3 separate regions of the Homo sapiens genome follow, and regions 2 and 3 are each linked to region 1. The links are contacts of gene promoters, found by promoter capture Hi-C in human tissues and cell types (Jung and others, 2019). All regions are on one chromosome and are shown on one strand. The core of a region is centred on a gene start or on the middle of the fragment in contact, and the rest is flanking DNA. Distances in the headings are between cores, read along the strand shown.

What was found. The method cuts DNA at HindIII sites, captures the fragments that hold promoters and counts their contacts. A contact is called where the count stands out against the background at its distance.
Region 2: a fragment that was not itself captured here is called in contact with the fragment with the promoter of ENSA in region 1 in 1 of the 25 tissues and cell types used here (hippocampus).
Region 3: the fragment with the promoter of VPS72 here is called in contact with the fragment with the promoter of ENSA in region 1 in 1 of the 25 tissues and cell types used here (adrenal gland).

What each region holds. Positions count from the first base shown.
Region 1 is chr1:150,628,329-150,630,893 of GRCh38, forward strand. It overlaps ENSA (endosulfine alpha), which reads right to left and starts at 1,284. Exons shown (of 4, transcript NM_004436.4): 1 at 1,086-1,284. The coding sequence starts at 1,142. LOC112268239 (a long non-coding RNA gene) reads left to right here and starts at 1,491. Exons shown (of 2, transcript XR_007066603.1): 1 at 1,491-2,174. RefSeq lists enhancers at 999-1,268, 1,011-1,978, 1,979-2,565. The HindIII fragment of the contact is 5,200 bases long and covers 1-1,973 here.
Region 2 is chr1:150,004,566-150,007,130 of GRCh38, forward strand. All of the region lies in intron 1 of OTUD7B (OTU deubiquitinase 7B), which reads right to left. Among named protein-coding and RNA genes, the nearest start is that of OTUD7B, 4.9 kb to the right of the region's middle. The HindIII fragment of the contact is 6,747 bases long and covers 1-2,565 here.
Region 3 is chr1:151,188,915-151,191,479 of GRCh38, forward strand. It overlaps VPS72 (vacuolar protein sorting 72 homolog), which reads right to left and starts at 1,283. Exons shown (of 6, transcript NM_005997.3): 1 at 1,091-1,283. The coding sequence starts at 1,207. RefSeq lists enhancers at 1,258-1,327, 1,368-1,427. The HindIII fragment of the contact is 20,238 bases long and covers 1-2,565 here.

The sequences.
Region 1 (2,565 bases), core at 34-2,533:
CCACAAATATTATGGTAGCAAGCTGATAAACAGAGAGGAAAATGATACTGTTTTTAACCTCAGGAAAACAAAGATACAGTAGGCTCACTAGTATTTACCCACCAGTTTTCATCAAAAAAATCAATACCTACCCTGGTGGTGCAGGGACTCTCACTACTGTAGTCAATCTCTTTTTTTTTTTTTTGTGGTCCCTGCTGCCCTTTAGTGACTTTTTGAAAAGATATGAAGTCAACGTATGACTCTTTTTAGTGGAATTATATTCCTTTCTCTTGGAAATTACGCATAGATATAACACCAAGTGTATTTAATGAGTACCTGAACCCAGTACTAAATTTTAAAAGTCAAATACAAACCCCAATAAGGGGTTTATTTGGCGTTAGTGTTTCCATCACGGAATCGCAGGTGCACTAAGTCCCTGCCTTGGAAGTCTAGGGGAAGAGAGAAGTGTCTTTCTCACGACCCTGTCGGCGTCTTTTCCAAGTTTAATTACCATGATTCTGTTTGGAACTCTAGCCCTCTTCAATATTGCTGGGTCCTCACTGAAGGTGAGCAATAGACCATCCTTAGCTACTAAAATAGGTCTCTTGAGAAAGTTGCCGCCTTAAACTAGCCATTATAATAACTACACTTCTCCCCTCCCCCAATACTGGTTTTTTTTTAAACGTCTTTACCTCGACCCCTATCTTTGCGGATTGAGGCTGCGGGCCCCAGCCCGGTTGCTGGGTCACTTACCTCTACAAACCAATAACACACATCACACCCAAGACCACCAGCCATCCCCTTTCCATTCACCGTCTTTCCAACCACCCGCCCCACGTCCATGCTCGGCCAATTATAGCACAGCGTCCAAGGTTTGAGCGGTAGGCCTATTGGCCAATCAGGAAGAGTACAGTACTGAGTGACAAACGACCCAACTAACCAGCGCCAAAGCAGCATGTCGTGTTGAAGCTCACCCAGCGTGACGCAAAAAGTGGCCAACCCCTGCGGAGCCTGAGACCATGGCGACCAATCCGCACTGGTGGGAGACCGTCTCCCGCCCCATCACGGTCTCCCCAGCTCGCCCGCCCGCACCCCTTCCACTTCACCTGCTTCTCCTCGCCGGTCTCCTCCGCAGGGTTCTCTTCTTCTTGTTTCTGGGACATGGCGGGACCGGGACTGTGGAGTGTAAGGGGCCCGGGAAGGCAACCGGAGAAGGGAAGGGGGAGGGGAAACGGGGACAACCTGCGCTGCTGCTTCGGCTCCTGTCACTAGGGTTGCTCAGTCAAAATGGCGGCCCTTGCCCGTGACGTTGCGACCGCCCCTTCCTATGAGAGCCAGTGGGAGTGAGGTAGATAGGGCAATGACGTAACGATCTACCAATAGTCGCCGTCTAAAGGTGGGCTCTATAGAGGCGACCGGCAAGCTGGAACACCAACCTGGAAAGAGAGTGAGCCACAAGGACCAATTGGAAGCCTGTGGGGGATATCGGGGGCGGGGCTGCTGGCTGTGGTACTTTTGCAGCTTTGGTGGGCTCCGGCTTCCTTCACTCCAGCCCACCGCGTCCGAGAGACTTAGCAGGGCGTCAAACTGGAGAGCGGAAGGATGGAACCTTTTATTCTCAGGTGGAGAGGATTAAGCTTTGCGGTGTTAGCAGAAAATGATCGAGCTCCAGAAAATGATTTGGAGGTCAGATTCGATTTTAAAGTAGTACTAACAGGCCGGGCGCGGTGCCTCACGCCTGTAATCCTAGCACTTTGGGAGGCCGAGGTGGGCGGATCACCTGAGGTTAGGAGTTCGAGACCAGCCTGACCAACATGGTGAAACCCCGTCTCTACTAAAAATACAAATATTAGCCGGGCGTGGTGGCGGGCGTTTGTAATCCCAATTACTTGGGAGGCTGAGGCAGGAGAATCGCTTGAACCCTGCAGGCGGAGGTTGCAGTGAGCCGAAATCGCGCCACTGCACTCCAGCCTGGGTGACAGGACGAGACTTTGTCGCGAAAAATAAAATAAAACGGTACCAATGGTATTACGATGTGTCACTTGGCCTGTGGAAGAGAGAGACTGAGTCTCAACCCGAGCTGTCTTGCAAAACACTAATGGCTTACGTTCCGTAGTTTCACTCTTATGTGTAGTTTTTATATTCCATCAGGGTGATCCCTTGGGGACTACGCTCCTTGAAACAAGGAGGACAGTGTAAGTATGTGGTAAACATTTGGTAAATACGGTTAATACTAGTTAACCTATCCAGAATTACAGTTTAACATTTCCTGGGCGTCTGTCTGTATGTGGATGGTACTGTGTTAGTTGGGGGGGGTACGTGTATAGTAAGGCAGTCTCTGCCCTTAGAAAGCTTACAGGCCTGGCTGGGCGCGGTGACTCACGCCTGTAATGCCAGCACTCTGGGAGGCGTAGGCGGGCGAATCACTTGAGGTCAGGAGTTCGAAACCAGCCTGGCCAACATGGTGAAACCCTGTCTCTACTAGAAATACAAAACAAGGCTGGGCACGGTGGCCCACGCATGTAATCCCAGCACCTTGGGAGGCCGATGAGGGTGGATCATGATGTCAGGCGATAGAAACCATCC
Region 2 (2,565 bases), core at 44-2,543, 620 kb before region 1:
AAAAAATAAATAAATAAATACATAAATAAATAAATAAATAAATTTTATATATATATATAAACTTATAAGCCTAGCTTTTTAACACCCTCTATAAACATAGCTCCAAACCAACCTACCCACCTTCATTTCACTACTGCTCACTGCCACTCAGGTTAGTCTCCTCACCGCCCCAAGAACATCTCAGGTATAGTCCTGTTTCCAGGCTTTCGCTTGATCCCTTTCAGCTCCAATATGAAATGTTTTGTTATCCTCTTCATCTTCATCCCTTGTACCTAATACAATAACACTTATTCATTTATTTTTTTATTTATTTTGGAGACAGAGTCTTGCTCTGTCACCCAGGCTGGAGTGCAGTGGTGCTATCTCGGCTGTTTGCAACCTCCATCTCCTGGGTTCAAGTGATTCTCCTGCCTCAGCCTCCTGAGTAGCTGGGATTACAGGCGTGAGCCACTGTGCCTGGCCTATTTTTTTATTAAGATCTGAAATGAGTTATAATTCCTCTGTGACATAACTACCTGAGTACTCCTCTCCCCAAATACCTACGGTATGAGGTCTGCACTATGCAACTAACAATATAGTTTCACATTTTAAAATTTTGTGTGGCATATTAAGAGGCTCAGCAAGTATTCATTCCTTTTTATTCTTCTTACTCCCAACTGGACTGTAAACTCTTCAAGGACACAAAGTTGTCATTTTTCCTAATCCTCCATAGCACCTAGCAAAGAATTAAACTCATAGTGGGTCACTACAAATAACAGTTTAGTAATTTTCTTATCTACAGCTATTTCTTAGAGGAAATAAAGGGCTAAGGTATAATCCTAAAAAAAGCACAGTTGAAAATAATCCCTATCTAGTTGTATAAAATAAGATTCCTGACTTTTCCACCTGATTTCTAGCTCAGAAATACTACAATCTCCTGACTCAAGAAGTAAATAATAATCCTGTGCTCGTGACATCAGTTTGGTAATGATTATAAAGAGGTGGGGGAGAGTGGCAGGGATGGAGAAAAGCAAGTCAACTGGAGAAGAAAAAAAAGGGATGAAAGAATGGCATGTGATTTTGTTTACTTCTTAAATGTGGACACTTCTGCCCATTCCTTTTTTTTTTAATTGGACATACTTTCAAACAACTTTCCTACAGGAGGAAAAGTCTGACAGATTTTCAATGAAGCTGATATCTGGAAGAGCCTCTACAAAGCACAAGTCCTTTGAGAAAGCCGGCTTAATCTTCAACAACACAACATAATGTAGTGGCATTCGTCCAGATACTGTGAATGAAGGCTCATTCTGGCTGGAACACAAGCATCACCTGCCAGTCATTCTCAGACATAAGACAGACAGCCTAGGAGGCCACATTGGATCCATACAGATTTTGAAAAGAAATTGGTCTATCAACATATTCAGTGTAGTCTAGTCTTAATTATCTACAAATGGATTATTCATTTTACGGATTTCTAAGGCCAAATCTTTAATGCAAGAATGACTGTTCTTCATCATCAGTGTACTCTCCCCACCATCAGGTAATATAAGCTTAGAAATGCAAATTTATTTCAATATTAGTATGATCCCCAAAAATGAAAATAAATCTAGTTTAAAAAATAATGTATTTTCGGCCCGGCACACTGGCTCACGCCTGTAATCCCAGCACTTTGGGAGGCCGAGTCAGGCGGATCACGAGGTCAGGAGATCAAGACCATCCTGGCTAACACGGTGAAACCCCGTCTCTACTAAAAATACAAAAAATTAACCGGGCGTGGTGGTGGGCGCCTGTAGTCCCAGCTACTCGGGAGGCTGAGGCAGGACAATGGCATGAACCTGGGAGGCAGAGCTTGCAGTAAGCTGAGATTGCGCCACTGTACTTCAGTCTGGGAGCAAAGTTGTCATTTTTCCTAAACCTCCATAGCACCTAGCAAAGAATTAAACTCATAGTGGGTCACTACAAATAACAGTTTAGTAATTTTTCTTATCTAAAACTATTTCTTAGAGGAAATAAAGGGATAAGGTATAATCCTAAAAAAAACACAGTTGAAAATAACCAGGAAATGTCTTTGTTAAGTTCTGAATTACCTACAACAGTGCTCCCTACATTAGCAGAGACAACTGAGAGTTAAATGCACTTGAAACATAATGCTGTCCTTACTATAAGCTCTTGAGGAGAATCCGGCCATAGTCTTGAGACTTCCCCACAGGTTGGTGCACTACGAGACAGGAACAAGCAGGCTCAGCATAGTAAGGTGTGTAAACACAAAAACTTCTACAAGGAATCTTATGCCTCCTGGCTGTATCCCTTCAGGTTAGGATGGTACAGAAAATAAGAGTCACAATGTACGGATGCCTGCCTGATTCCTTGTCCCTGAGTTCCTGAACCAAAGGGCTCAATATTTCTCATTAAATCCGTCCTTTGTTCAAGGACCTACAATGATTCTATTGACCCTTCTATCAACACCCAACAGAGTCTGGCTTCTGAGTCCCCTCCACCCTCTTGCCTGCTCTACTCATGACTTGCCCAACCCACATTCTCTACAGTCACTCTCATATATTCCCCCCACTCACAACTTAGTCATTC
Region 3 (2,565 bases), core at 33-2,532, 560 kb after region 1:
CCTCCTCCCAGGTTCAAGCGATTCTCTGCCTCAGCCTCCTGAGTAGCTGGGACTATAGGCGCACACCACCACGCTTGGCTAATTTTTGTATTTTAATAGAGACAGGGGGTTTTACCATGTTGGCCAGGATGGTCTCGATTTCCTGACCTTGTGATCCACCCGCCTCGGCCTTCCAAAGTGCTGGGATTACAGGCGTGAGCCACTGTGCCCGGCCAAAGCCACTGTGCTCGGCCTATCACACAGTATTTTAACTGTTAACCCAGGCAGTTACCCCACTGGGGCATGGAGTATGTAAGGACAGAGCACTGTTTTTAATATTCTGTTTCCCTAGAGCCTAAAACAACCTATTACCGATGGCATGCTCTGGGTACTCAACACATTTAATAAACGGGTAGATTCAACTAATAAAAATTTAGCAAGTGGCAGCCCAGTCCGGACACCTCACACATAATGTTGAACAAAACAGACCATCTCTAACTTTATACAGTTTACAATGCAATAGAAAAGCATAAGCAAGTAAGCAAACCAAATCTAATTGCAAATTGAAATATGTTCTGTGGAAGAAATAAATGGGGACACTTGTTAGGATAGTCAAGGAAGGGTTATCTTCCTGAGAAAACATTTACACTGAGACCTGAAAGCTGAAAAAGAAGTGGGCTAAGCTCCTCTACTTTTGGAGCGGTTCCTTTCCATGTCTCAGGTGAATAATCCAGCAGTGGGCCAACGAGTATACATCGAGCAACTGTCTACTACTATGTGTGTGCCTCGTGTATGCTGGACGTCAGAAGTACAGTGAAAGATGCAACCACGCAAGTATACGGTAGGTTTCTGCCGTTCTCTGTTCTCTGGAGTGCCTCCGGAGAGCTTCTCCGTCTCAGGCCCCTTTGACCCCATCCAGAGCTCTCCCTTCTAGGACTCCACACTATCCGTTCCCCCGCCTCGCCCCCCGGCTCCGATTCACCCACCCAACTCGAGTATCAGCTCCCAGAGCTCCTCTCTATTCCCCGCCCTCTTCTTCTTTGTCCGGGGTTTCTCCCTTCAGGGCTCCTCTTTGCCTCCTCCCCTCCCTTTTCCCAGGCCCGGATCTTGCCTCTGTGAAACCCCCATAAGTCGTCTGGTAGAACTCATCTTCCTCCTCTGCCTCCAAAAGCCCAGAAAGCCGGTTCCCAGCGGTCTTCCGGGGTGCCCGGCCCCCAGCCAAACTCATACCGCCTACCGAGACTGCGCCGCCACCTGCAGCCCCTCACCAGCTCGGTTTTGGGAGCTCGACGCTCGACATCACTACCTGCGGGTGGCCACCAGCGGCGGAAGTCGGGCGTTTACAGGCAGAAGTAACAGAGTGTCGAGAGACTCCCAGTCCCACCCTCTAAACCCTCTTTACTCTTCAGCCTCTCCTACTCCTGCGCGGATGCTCTAGGCCGCTTGCTCTAGTACCCAGCGATCTCCCTTGCTCAATGAGTCCACTTGGTGGTACGAAGACCCCCATAACCCTAAGTCAACACATTTTATTTTATTTATTTTTATTTTATATATATATATGGTTTTTTTTTTCCGTAGGGACGGAGTCTCGCCTCGCTCTGTCGCCAGACTGGAGTGCAGTGGCACGATCTCGGCTCACTGCAACCTCCGTCCCCCGGGCTGAAGCGATTCTCCTGCCTCAGTCCCCCGAGTAGCTGGGATTACAGGCGCCCGCCACCATGCCCAACTAATTTTTGTATTTTTAGTAGAGACAGCTTTCACCGTGTTGGCCAGGCTGGTCTCGAACTCCTGACCTCAGGTGATCCGCCCGCTTCGGCCTCCCAAAGTGCTGGGATTACAGGCATAAGCCTGCGCCCCCAGCTCACATTTTCTTTTAGAAGAGGTCATTCTCTCCGCTCCAGTCCATTTTCTACACTGCTGCTAGTAGGAAACTTTCTAAAAACCCACGTTTTGCCACTCCTGTCCTCAAACATTTTTAATGGCTCCACATCATCTACAAGATAAAGTCAAAAATCCTTGAGGAAGGAAGCATAGTATTGTGGTTAAAAACACAGCCATAGACATTTATCCAAAGGAAAGGACATAATTCAACCTGAGGAAGCCAATTTAGGAGGAAAAAAAAAAAGGAAATCAGTATATCCAAGAGACGTCTGCACTCCATATTTATGCACCCCCATATTTATTGCAGCACTACTTAGAGTAGCCAAAATAGGAAATCAATCTCTGTGTCCAACAACAGATGAATAAAGGAAATAGGGTGTATATACACAATGGAATACTTTTCAGCCATTAAAAAGAAGAAAATCCTGTCATTTGCAGCAACATGGATGGAACTGGAGGACATGTTAACTGACTTAAGCCACGAACAGAAAGTTAAAACACTGCATGTTCTCACTCATATGTGACGCTTTTAAAAAGTTGATTTCATAGAAGTGAAAGAACAGAGGATACTGGAGGCTGGGAAGAGCAGGGGGAAGGAAGGGACAGGGAAAGATTTGTTAAAAGACACAAAATTGTGGCTCACACCTGTAATCCCAGCACTTTGGGAGGCCGAAGGGGGTGGATCATGAGGTCAGGAGTTCACGA